3 separate regions of the Homo sapiens genome follow, and regions 1 and 3 are each linked to region 2. Evidence: promoter capture Hi-C in 16 types of primary human blood cells and fetal thymus (Javierre and others, 2016). All regions are on one chromosome and are shown on one strand. The core of a region is centred on a gene start or on the middle of the fragment in contact, and the rest is flanking DNA. Distances in the headings are between cores, read along the strand shown.

Region 1 (3,682 bases), core at 70-2,569, 190 kb after region 2:
TTCTGGGCCAGGCGCCGGCGGGCAGCCCACACCGGTCCAGAGTCTGTGCTGAAGGTCAAGCTCTGGCCATCAGTGATGAGGGTGGAGGTGTAGAGGTCAGGCCGGCCCTTGAAATCGTCGCCCTGCCGCACCAGGGCCTGCCGGATGGTGTCCAGGCGGCTCAGCACCAGCACGGGCGTGGAGCCAATGCGGATCTGCAGGACGTCCCCGTAGCGCTGGCTCATCCTTGACAGTGCCAGGTGCGGGTTCTTCCCCAGGGTCAGCACATGCCCGAGCAAGGGCCAGCCCCATGGCTCTGGTGGACTTTTCAGGCCTTTGGGGACCCGAGGCCTCAAACCCTTGAGCACCCAGAATACCAGGCAGAAGATGGCAGAGGCCAGGAGAAGCTCTGTGGCCGAGAAGGGAACAGACTGGGACAATGCCATCTGTACCAACTGCAGGGAAAAAAGGAGGGACCAGGCTGAGGGTTGAGATGGAGACATTCATTCATTCATTTCCTCAGTCATTTGATAAACACTGATGCGTGTTCTGTGCTTGGCTCCCAGCTGGATACCAGAAAGACTAAGCTCCATCTACCATGCGTCCTGGGCCCACAGAGCTCACCCTTTGAGCATCACAGAATCTGAGAGCTGGAAAGGAGCCTCAAGATTCCCAACATGAACGCTGGCTCTCTCCTCCACACATCATCTCAGTTTCCACTTCTGGGGCTGGAGTAGAGGCAAGTGACCACTCCAAAATGGGGAAGCCAAGGACAGCACCCTTGTCAGCCCCTGGCACAGCATGCATGCTGGGTATTGTACCAAAGAGTCCCTGCCAGTGCTGGCTTTCTGCTGATACCTTCCATATACCCAAGGGACCAGGAGTTCCCCCTACCCAGTGACACTGAGGTGGCCAAGGTCCCAGGGCTGGTTCAAATAGCCTGTGATGCCCCCTCCCCAGGGCATTCTTTATCAATACCAGGAGGGGCACCTCCTCCAGGGATGAGTCCCCATCCTCTCACAGTCTTGGAGGTTGGGGTTGGGCTTCAGCCAGGGCCAGGGCTGCCCTTGTGCTAAGGGGGAAGCCCTCCCCATCGCTCTCCTTAAAAATGGCTTAGTCCAAACTGCTCATTTAAAATCGGGAAACAGAAGTCAAGAGCTGGGTAGCAAAGCCCGGAACTCAGGACCCCTACACCTAGCCCAGGCTCCCCGTCTTTCTGTCCCCACTAGCTTCCAGGTTCTATAGTTGGGGATCCCAGAGATTGTAAATTGGTCCCAAGAAAGGTACCTGTAGAGGCAGGTGCTTGAGATTGGCAGGGTTGTAATGGCTGGTGTGGAGCTTCTGGCTCTAGGTGAGTGGCCTTTTTATAAACACCGCCCCCTATCAGATTGGCCTGGTTGTCCTGATCACCTGATATGAAAGCTGGATCACTGAACAAAGTTGGAAGGATCAACTCTTGGCCTTGGGCCATTATCCCTCAGCTCCACCTACTACCTAAGACCCAGGGTGACTCTTTGGGGATAGGCCAGAAGGGGTGCTGGGTCCCTGGGGATGAAGGTACAGCTGTCTTTAGGGTTCAGGGTAGGGAGCCTATTTCTCTGAAGAGTAGGGTAGGGTCTGGGAGTGGGGGTTAGGCCTTTGGACTGATCTGGGCTTCTTTCCCACTGCACACATGAGGAAGAGCTCTGCCAGGGCACTCAGTCTAGGCCAACCAGGCTCACGGCCCCTCTCCAGAGGGATGTTCTTCTGTAGTACCCTCCAACAACCTGCAAAACCAAACAGTAAATGGGCGTGTTCCAGCCACTCCTGATTTTCAGCCCAAGTCCCCAAGTGGAAAAGAAGAGATGATAAAGATTTTGCATCCTAAAGAGAGGCCCCCCTTATGCAAAAAGACTAAGAGACATAACCAAATGCAATATGGATTTGCATTTGATTGCCATATCGATTGGATATGGCATTTAAACAAAATTTTAAAAAAATCTATAAAAGATGTTTTGGGGACAATTGGGGACATGTAAGCACGGACTGGAGATTAGATGATATTCTGGAATAAATGTAAATTTTTTTAGGTGTGAACAGAGTGTCATGGTATGTGGGAGTGTATCCTTATTCTTAGGAGATTAATGCTGTAGCATGGAAGTGTCATGATCCCCACAACCTCCTTTTGAATGGTTCTGTTAAAAAATGTACACCTCTAGGCCAGGCGCGATGGCTCGCACCTGTAATCCCAGCACTTTGAGAGGCCGAGATGGGCGGATCACCTGAGATCAGGTGTTCAAGACCAGCCTGGCCAACCTGGTGAAACTCCGTCTCTACTAAAAATACAAAAATTAGCCAGGCATGGTGGCATGTGCCTGTGATCCCAGCTACTCGGGAGGCTGAGGCAGGAGAATGGCTTGAACTTGGGAGGTGGAGGCTGCAGTGAGCCAAGATCGTGCCACTCCACTCCAGCCTGGGCGACAGAGTGAGACTCCGTCTCAAAAAAAAAAAAAATGTACACCTTTAAAGAGTGTAATTGGATTGTTTGTAACTCAAAGGTTTATCCTTGCTTGAGGGGATGGATACTCCATTCTCCATGAATGCTTATTTCATATTGCATGCCTGTATCAAAACATTTCATGTACCCCATACATATATACACCTACTATGTACCCATAAAATTAAAACAATGTATACCTATCTATCAATAAATCGAGAGAAAGTAGATATGAGAAATGTCAGATATTCATGGACTTACGTGAGGATATATGGTGTTTGTTGTACTAAAGGAGTCTTTAATATGGACCCAGATCTCAGTCAGATCTAAGAGGAGGAGGAGGACAAGCCTTAAATTGGATGTGAAAAGGAAGTTTGCTATCTTTTTTTTTTTTTTTTAGATACAGAGTCTTGCTCTGTCACCCAGGTTGGGGTTCATGTGCCACAATCATGGCTCACTGCAGCCTCGACCTCCTGAGCTCAAACAATCCTCTTGCCTCAGCCTCCTGAGTAGCTGGGACCACAATCACAGGTGTGTGCACCATGCCTGGCTAATTTTTTTATTTTTAAACATTTTTTTGTAGAGAGGAGGTCTTGCCATGTTGCCCAGGTTGGTCTTGAACTTCTGGGCCCAAGCAATCCTTCTGCCTTGGCCTCCCAAACTGCTGGGATTACAGGTGTGAGCCACTGTGCCCGGCATGGATGTGAGAGGGAAGTTTTGATTTAGACTGGAGTGGGCTTTTATTCCTGAAAATGAGAAAACTGTGGGATCAACCTGTGAAGATGCCAAGGCAGATGGATGGGGAATCCAATAGAGAAACAGAGCATGTTTGAAGGCCATGAATGGGAGAAGAGGAAAGTTGTTTCCTGTCTATATCTCCATTGGGTTCAGATGACTCAATGAAAAAGGTCAAGGTTTGAGGTTAGGCTCGGTTTTATAGAAAATGGACTCTTTCTTTCTCTCTGTCTGTCTGTCTCTCTAATTAACTAAAGTTCATGGTTTACTTAGATTTCCTTGCGTTTTACCTAATGTCCTTTTCCTGTTCCAGGACCCATTGGATATCACATGACATTTAGTCATCACGTCTCTTTGGATTCCTCTTGGCTGTGACAGTTTCTCAGGATATCCTTGTTTTTGATGACCTTGACAATTTTCAGGAGTACTGGTTGGACATTTTGTAGGATGCCCACTATTGGAATGTGCCTGATGTTTTTCTTCTCATGGTAA
Region 2 (3,665 bases), core at 549-3,048:
GTTAGAGCAATATTTTTAGGCTTTATGGCTGGCTTTGGGACAAAGGGGTTCTACTTTCTAGACCCCCTCTTGGGGAGGAGGGATTCTAGTTTCTGTGGCATGCCTGGAGGGAGAGTAAGGGGCAAGAGACAAGAGGGCAGAAGGTCAGAGAGAAACTGCTTCATAGGCCTTCACTTTGTGGTATTGTTTTCTAAGCCCCAGCACTAGGTTGGTGGGAAACGGTGAGGGCAGGTGCTTTGAAAACATTTTAAAAATCCTTTTCCCCGCCAGGTTCCTACCCACTGAAGCCACACTGCTAGGGAGGAAAAAGAGAAGGGCAGATGCTGAGGCCCTGGAGAGTCGGCCTGAAGTGAGGAAGTGGCACATGAATGGCCACCTTTTCTTTCCTCAGTGTGCCCAGGGATAGAGAATGGGAGACAGCAAGACAGAATACAATGTCTCATTAACTCTGGGCAGCATCCAGATACTTCAGGCCTGGGAGAGGTGTCCTTGACTGCCCAGGGGCTCAAAGTTAGGATGTAGCTAGTGAGATAAGATGCAACAACTGTGGAACTTGATCAACCCTATTTCAGAGCCATCGTGGATTCAGGAGCCCTCCTGTAGGAGATGGGAAACATTCAGGTGAGAGTCCTCAGAACTGGGGATGTGGCGAAAAGATCCTTGACTGCCAGCAGCAACCTAATTTCTGAGCCTCTTTCCTAATCTGTGAAATGAAGTAGTTTAACTCATTTTTTATGCAAGCTGGTTTGTGATATAAGAATATGTACTAATAAAATCCCTTACGCATAGGCCTTTTTTTTTTTTGAGATGGAGTTTTGATCTTGTTGCCCAGGCTGGAGTGCAATGGTGCGATCTCAACTCACTGCAACCTCTGCCTCCTGGGTTCCAGCAATTCTCCTGCCTCAGCCTCCCAAATAGCTGGGATTACAGGCATGCGCCACCACACCTGGCTAATTTTGCATTTTTAGTAGAGACAGGGGTTTCTCCATGTTGGTCAGGCTGGTCTCGAACTCCCGACCTCAGGTGATCCGCCCGCCTTGGGCTCCCAAAGTGCTAGGATTACAGGCGTGAGCAACCGCGTCCAGCGGCATTCTTTCCCCCATTCGCTGTTTTATTTTATGCCACAATGAGAAGGCGGGGCTAAGCAAAGTAGGTTTTTGTTTTGTTTGGTTTTTTTGAGACGGAGTTTCGCTCTTGTTGCCCAGGCTGGAGTGCAATGGCACCATCTCGGCTCACCGCAACCTCCTCCTCCTGGGTTCAAGCGATTCTCCTGCCTCAGCCTCCCGAGTAGCTGGGATTGCGGGCATGCGTTGCGCCACCACGCCTGGCTAATTTTGTATTTTTAGTAGAGACGGGGGTTCCTCCATGTTGCCCAGGCTGGTCTTGAACTCCCGACCGCAGGTGATCCGCCCGCCTCGGCCTCCCAAAAGTGCTGGGATTACAGGCATGAGCCACAGCGCCCGGGCGCAAAGTACGTATTTTTTATTATAGTTTGTTGTTATTGCTGTCATTCCTATTTTGAGGTGATTAAGTGCCCTCCTGGGCCTGACTCGAACAAGATCACGGTCGGTTGCTCCTCCCTCGCCTCCATTCCTACTTACAGGATGGCAGCTGCACGTCACCTGACCAGAGACAAGGCGGGACGCGAGGCTAACAGTTTGTCCTCAGCGCGCCGCCGTAGCCCCCGCCGCCGCCGGCCGCGCGGTGGCTCCTCCCGCCCACGCGCCAGAGTCGCAGTGGGCGGGCCTACGTGCTCCGCCCGCTGTGAGCCTGTCCGGCCCCCGCCCGCTCCGGAGCAACCCGCGAGCTTACACCGGCTTCTCTCTGTCCTCAGCCCGCGCGCCGCCATCGCCGTCATGCTGGGCGCCGCTCTCCGCCGCTGCGCTGTGGCCGCAACCACCCGGGCCGACCCTCGAGGCCTCCTGCACTCCGCCCGGACCCCCGGCCCCGCCGTGGGTAAGGCCCCTGCTTGCCACTGCCCGCGCCCTCGTGTCCTTGCGGTGACCTGGGTCCCCGCTGCCACTCCGGGGCGGGCTCTCCCCGGCCTAGCCCTTGCCCTACCCTGGTTACTGAACCCGGTGACCGCGGGCCGCCCTGCCCGCCGCCTCGAGTAGTGGAGGACCTGAAAGCGCGCCCCCGGGGCCTCCCCCCGCGCAACTTCCTGGCTGTGCCACCGCGGACAGGTCAGATGTGGACCTGCTGTGGGCGCCGAGGAGGGGACGCAGCGCTCCCCTTCGGTTCCCGGGCCATGACCCTGCCCCAGCGCCGACCCTGCGGCCACCTGACCGAGAGTGGCCGCCGCCGGCCTGCAGCGCCTCGGCGAAGGTGACATTGAGCCTCCGGGCACGCCGCTTGGGGTCCGAGGACACAATATACTTCCGTATGGGACACACGATTATACTTTTCAATCAGGCATTTCTCGGTTAGCGATTAGTGTGTCACCTTCACAGCCTTTTCCATCATTTTTAGGGTCTGCTGTGCCACGTTCTAATTCTTCCACGTTTAAAATAGATGGAAGTGTGTGGTTGTTTCCTGATCTCCGGAAGATAGCCAGAGTTTTGATAGGGCTTATGATAAAAATATCACTCTTTTGAAAACTGAATGTCACAGACACAGGAATACTGGGTTTTACAAGCATAGGAACGCTTCGTGTTTTTTCCCCTTTGTAATAGAAGCCTGATTGCTGGAGTATGAGACGTGCTTCTGATTTTTGTCTATTTTCCTTCCCTTTATATGTGTGCTGGGAGGTTTTGAGTCCACCACCATAGAATAATTACAGTAATTGCACTTCGATCTTGGTCCGTGAAATTTAGCTTCTATGCATGCATATTATATTTTATTTTTGAACCTGCATCACTGGCAACTATGCATGCGTATTTAAACATAAGAACTCAGAAACTCGTTTCAGGGTATGCTGAAGTTAAAAATTAAAAAAAGAACTCAGCCGGGCGCGGTGGCTCATGCCTGTAATCCCAGCACTTTGGTAGGCCGAGGCGGGCGGATCACCTGAGGTCAGGAGTTCAAGACCAGCCTGGCCAACATGGTGAAACCCTGTCTGTACTAAAAATACAAAAAATTTAGCTGGGTGTGGTGGTGGGCGCCTGTAATCCCAGCTACTCGGGAGGCTGAAGCACAAGAATCGCTTGAACCTGAGAGGCGGAGGTTGCAGTGAGCCGAAATCGCGCCATTGCACTCCAGCCTGGCCGACAGAGCGAGACTCCGTCTCAAAAAAAAAAAAAAAAAAAAAAGAATATGTTTTGCTTCATTCATTTTAGACTTTTATCATTTGTCGTAGAACCATAAGGCTGGAGGGTACTTTATTTTTGTTTATTTATTTATTTTTAAATTAGAGACGGAGTGTCCCTATGTTGCCCAGGCTGGGCTTGAACTCCTGGGCTCAGGTGATCCTCCCACCTCAGCCTCCCAAAGTTTGGGATTATAGGCATGAGCCACTGCAGCCAACCTAGAGTGTACTTTAGAGATCGTGGAAGCCATTTTATTTTATAGAAAAGGAAACCAAAGTCCATCTTGGGAAACTGACTCCTTGTTTTTTTTTGTTTGTTTGTTTGTTTTTGTTTTGTTTTGTTTTGTTTTGTTTTTTCTTGAGACAGAGTTTCGTTCTTGTTGCCCAGGCTGGAGTGCAATAGCACGGTCTTGGCTCAAGC
Region 3 (3,924 bases), core at 1,409-3,908, 170 kb after region 2:
TCGGCTGATTCTCAAGTGAAAGCAGAAGCAAGGGGGCAGCTGGACTGCAGCCATCTCCAAGATCCTGGAATTTAATCCCTTTGAATATAAGATCCCTGAGAAGAGGCAGGTGGAGGTGTAGGTCCGTGAAGAACTGGCCGCTCTCATCCCTGTGCCTTTGGCACACCTGCAACCCTCGTTTTCTCACCTGTTGCTCCAGCTAAGTGAGCAATGTGAGAGTCCCAGGAGGTTACAAATGGATCTGCACCATCAGTGTTCCCAGTGCCCCAGCACAGAAAATATAATGAATCAGCCTTGAGGGTAGTGAGCTCTCTGTTCTTAAAAGTATGAGAACAGAAGTTGAACTCCTGGCAGGGAGTTAGATGAGGAATTGGTGTTTTTTTTGTTTTGTTTTGTTTTTTTGAGATGGAGTCTTGCTCTGTCACCCTGCCTGGAGTGTAGTGGCGTGATCTTGGCTCACTGCAACCTCTGCCTCCTGGGTTCAAGCGATTCTCCTGCCTCAGCCTACTGAGTAGCTGGGATTAAAGGTGCCTGCCACCATACCTGGCTATTTTTTTTTTTTTTTTTTGTAGTTTTAGTAGAGACGGGGTTTTACCCTGTTGGCCAGGCTGGCCTCGAACTCCTGACCTCATGTGATCAGCTCGCCTCAGCCTCCCAAAGTGCTGGGATTATAGGTGTGAGCCAGCACGCCTGGCCTGCACGAGGAATTTCTACTCCAGGTGGGTCTATGAGGACCAGGCTGGGGAATGAGAGGAAGTGGGGGGCTGTCCTCTGGCCACTCTTAGTGGCTTCTCTAGAATTTCTGCATAGGACTGACTTGAGACTTGTCTTGAAGTTGTATTTGCAAAACAAAGTCGCTTATTCCTTAGGTTGCCTTTTTATTTGGGGTGGGGTCCCCAAGACAGTGGGTAAAGGCTAGCAGCTATGAGAAACATGTGTTTCTCTAACTGCCCACGAGGGGGCAGCCTACACTGCATTTTCGGCTCCAGTTCTTGGCTGGGGAGAGTGACGCGGGCAGATCCTGACATGAGGACAGGGCTGGGGGCTGATGGATTGGGAAGAATTGGGCATCAGATGGGTGTGGGGCGGGGGCTATTCTTCTCCCCATAGATCACAAGCCCGACTTTTTTGGGGTTAGGAGGAACAGGCAAGGTGGGAAGCTTTCCTTTCAACAGTGAATCCTGCCACTGGAAAAATTTAGTAGAATTTGAAGACCACGGTTGTAGCAAGCGTCCAGGAAGCGTTTCAGCTCGACATTTCGGGACAGATTCCTGCCTCTCCGGGGCAAGGAGCACGTGACAGCATGGCTGCTGGGAGGAAGGGAGCCCCGCACATTGTGCACATGTACCCTAAAACTTAAAGTATAAATAAATAAATAAATAAATAAATAAATAAATAAATAAAAGAAAAGCCCCCAGAGGGCGGCCCTGAGCTCACATAGGACAGTTAAGCAGGGGACTTGAGGCACGGTGGTGAGCTGGAGCTCCTCTGTCATCCCCTGGGTGGGAGGAACCTGGTGCTGGCTTGTGTGTAGTGCGTATCTACCCACTTCAGCCTCCCAAAGTGCTGGGATTACAGGCTCATTGCAGAGCTCCTGGCCTTTTCCCCGGGCAGCCACTCGCAGCAGGCCCAGTGACATCCTGGGTGGATGAGGGCAGGGAACCGAGAGCGGCTGGAGGGGAAGGAGATGGGATAGGACCATTTCTGGAAAGAATGGGTGGATTGGTCACTCAGAGAACAGCAGAACCCAGCCCTTCCAGGAACCATCCCCAGAAGCCCCTTCTGGCTCTGGATGGGCTTTTCTAGATGGGGTGCTACAGGGGTGAGCCCGATGTATATGTGGCTGCCAGGACTCCCCACAGTCCCCTGAGTCTGAGCCCCTGTGCATCCGCAGCTTATGCATGTAGCATTATCAGCGCAGGATGCTCACACTGGTTTAGCACAGTGCGCCTGTAGGCACCGGGAAGTTCTGACTCTCCCTTGGAGTGGGGCCTGGAGCCCCTCTCTGGGTGAGGGGATGGCCTCACCTCTCTCTGGGTGAGAAGGCAGCCCCTTCTCAAACTCATCGGGTGCATCCCTGGGGACACAGGGCAGAAAGACCCATGACCCCCTTTGGGCTCCAAGTTGGGGGTGCAGGGCAGAGGCCAGAGAGCTCAGCCAGAGCCTAGCAGACCCCAGGCGGGCAAGGAGGAAATTATACCGAGTCCCACCCACTGCCTGTTTGCCCAGCTGCAGGGGAGCCTGGCAGGAGCCAGGATAGGATTCTGCAGCCCTGGGGCAGCAGGGACTAGGAGGGGACTGGCCTGGCAGAATGAAGGCTGGGTTTTCAGCCTTGCCCGTACACCACCTTCCTGGAAAGAAGACCTTCTTCCCAGGAAAAGAAAAGCCCCCGGAGGGTGGCCCTTTCCTTCCCGTCCTGGTCTTTACAATCTTGCAAAAGGTCCCCAAATGCATACCTGAAATACCTCTGAGTTCATAGAGCCAAAAAGATCTAGGTTTCAGTTCTGGCTCTTCTGCTTTCCTGAAGAAGCCATCTTCCCTCTCTGAACCTCTGTCTCTCCATCTCTAAATTTGGGTTATTTCACAGGTGAGGCTATGCCTTTCCTAAGAGGGGTGATAATTTGCCTTCAAGCACACAGTAACCCCTTTCCTGCCTCAGGACCTTTGCACAGGTTGGTCCCTCTGCCTAGAACTCTTTTTCCTCTTTTTTTTTTTTTTGATTTTTTATTTTTTGAAGCAAAGTATCGCTCTATCTCCCAGGCTGGAGTGCAGTGGTCCGATCTCGATCTTGGCTCACTATAACCTCCGCCTCCCGGGTTCAAGCGATTCTCCTGTCTCAGCTTCCCGAGTAGCTGGGACTACAGGCATCCGCCACCACTCCCGGATAATTTTTGTATTTTTAGTAGAGACAGAGTTTCACCATATTGGCCAGGCTGGTCTCGAACTCCTGACCTTGTGATCCGCCCGCCTCAGCCTCCCAAAGTGCTGGGATTACAGGCGTGACCCACCGCGCCCACCCTCCTCTTTTCTTTTCTTTTCTTTTTTCAGATGGAGTCTCGCTCCTTCGCCTGGGCTGGAGTGCAATGGCACAATCTTGGCTCACTGCAGCCTCCGCCTCCTGGGTTCAAACAATTCTCCTGCCTCAGCCTCCCGAGTAGCTGAGATTACAGGCATTCACCACTATGTCTGGCTAATTTTGTGCTTTTAGTAGAGACGGGGTTTCTCCATGTTGAGGCTGGTCTCGAACTCCTGACCTCAGGTGATCCACCCGCCTCAGCCTCCCAAAGTGCTGGGATTACAGGCGTGAGCCACCGCGCCCGGCATACCTGGCTATTTTTTTTTTTTTTGAGATGGAGTCTCGCTCTGTTGCCCAGGCTGGAGCGCAGTGGCATGATCTGGGCTTACTGCAACCTCTGCCTCCCAATGCCCAGCTAATTTTTGTAGTTTTAATAGAGACAGAGTTTCACCATGTTGGCCAGGCTGGTCTTGAACTCTTGACCTCAGATGATCCTCCTGCCTCAGCCCCCCAAAGTGCTGAGATTACAGGTGTGAGCCACTGTGCCCAGCCAACCTTTTTTTTTTTTTTTTAATGGGCTCTCGTTCTGTTGCCCAGGCTGGAGTGCAGTGGAGCCATCTCAACTCACTGCAACCTCTACCTCCCAGGCTCAAGCAATCCTCCCACCTCAGCCTCCCGAGTAGCTGGGGTTACAGGCACCCGCCACCATGCCCGGCTAATTTTTATATTTTTAGTAGAGATGGGGTTTTCACCATGTTGGCCAGGCTGGTCCTGAACTCCTGACCTGAAGTGATCCACCCACCTCAGACTCCCAAAGTGCTGGAATTACAGAAGTGAGCCAACGTGCCCAGCCTCCATCTTAACCATTTTTAAGTACACAGTTTAGTGGTATTAAATGCACTCATAAT

Evidence for each region. Contacts are between HindIII fragments. The CHiCAGO score rates a contact against its expected background, and 5 or more counts as called.
Region 1: the fragment with the promoter of CYP1A2 here is called in contact with the fragment with the promoter of COX5A in region 2 in 4 of 17 cell types (naive B cells, non-activated CD4 T cells, total B cells and 1 more); the score reaches 6.5 in naive B cells.
Region 3: a contact is called between a fragment that was not itself captured here and the fragment with the promoter of COX5A in region 2, in 2 of 17 cell types (non-activated CD4 T cells and naive CD8 T cells). The highest score is 5.9, in non-activated CD4 T cells.

Annotation. Positions count from the first base shown.
Region 1 is chr15:74,746,482-74,750,163 of GRCh38, reverse strand. It overlaps CYP1A2 (cytochrome P450 family 1 subfamily A member 2), which reads right to left and starts at 1,319. Exons shown (of 7, transcript NM_000761.5): 1 at 1,267-1,319; 2 at 1-434. The coding sequence starts at 425. RefSeq lists promoters at 426-1,563, 3,295-3,682, 1,229-3,682, an enhancer at 3,417-3,675 and a cis regulatory region at 2,650-3,682. The HindIII fragment of the contact is 9,803 bases long and covers 1-3,682 here.
Region 2 is chr15:74,936,206-74,939,870 of GRCh38, reverse strand. It overlaps COX5A (cytochrome c oxidase subunit 5A), which reads left to right and starts at 1,798. Exons shown (of 5, transcript NM_004255.4): 1 at 1,798-1,956. The coding sequence starts at 1,857. RefSeq lists a silencer at 1,545-2,104. The HindIII fragment of the contact is 6,406 bases long and covers 1-3,665 here.
Region 3 is chr15:74,766,065-74,769,988 of GRCh38, reverse strand. No RefSeq gene overlaps it. Among named protein-coding and RNA genes, the nearest start is that of CSK, 14 kb to the left of the region's middle. RefSeq lists an enhancer at 1,878-2,655. The HindIII fragment of the contact is 2,992 bases long and covers 1,163-3,924 here.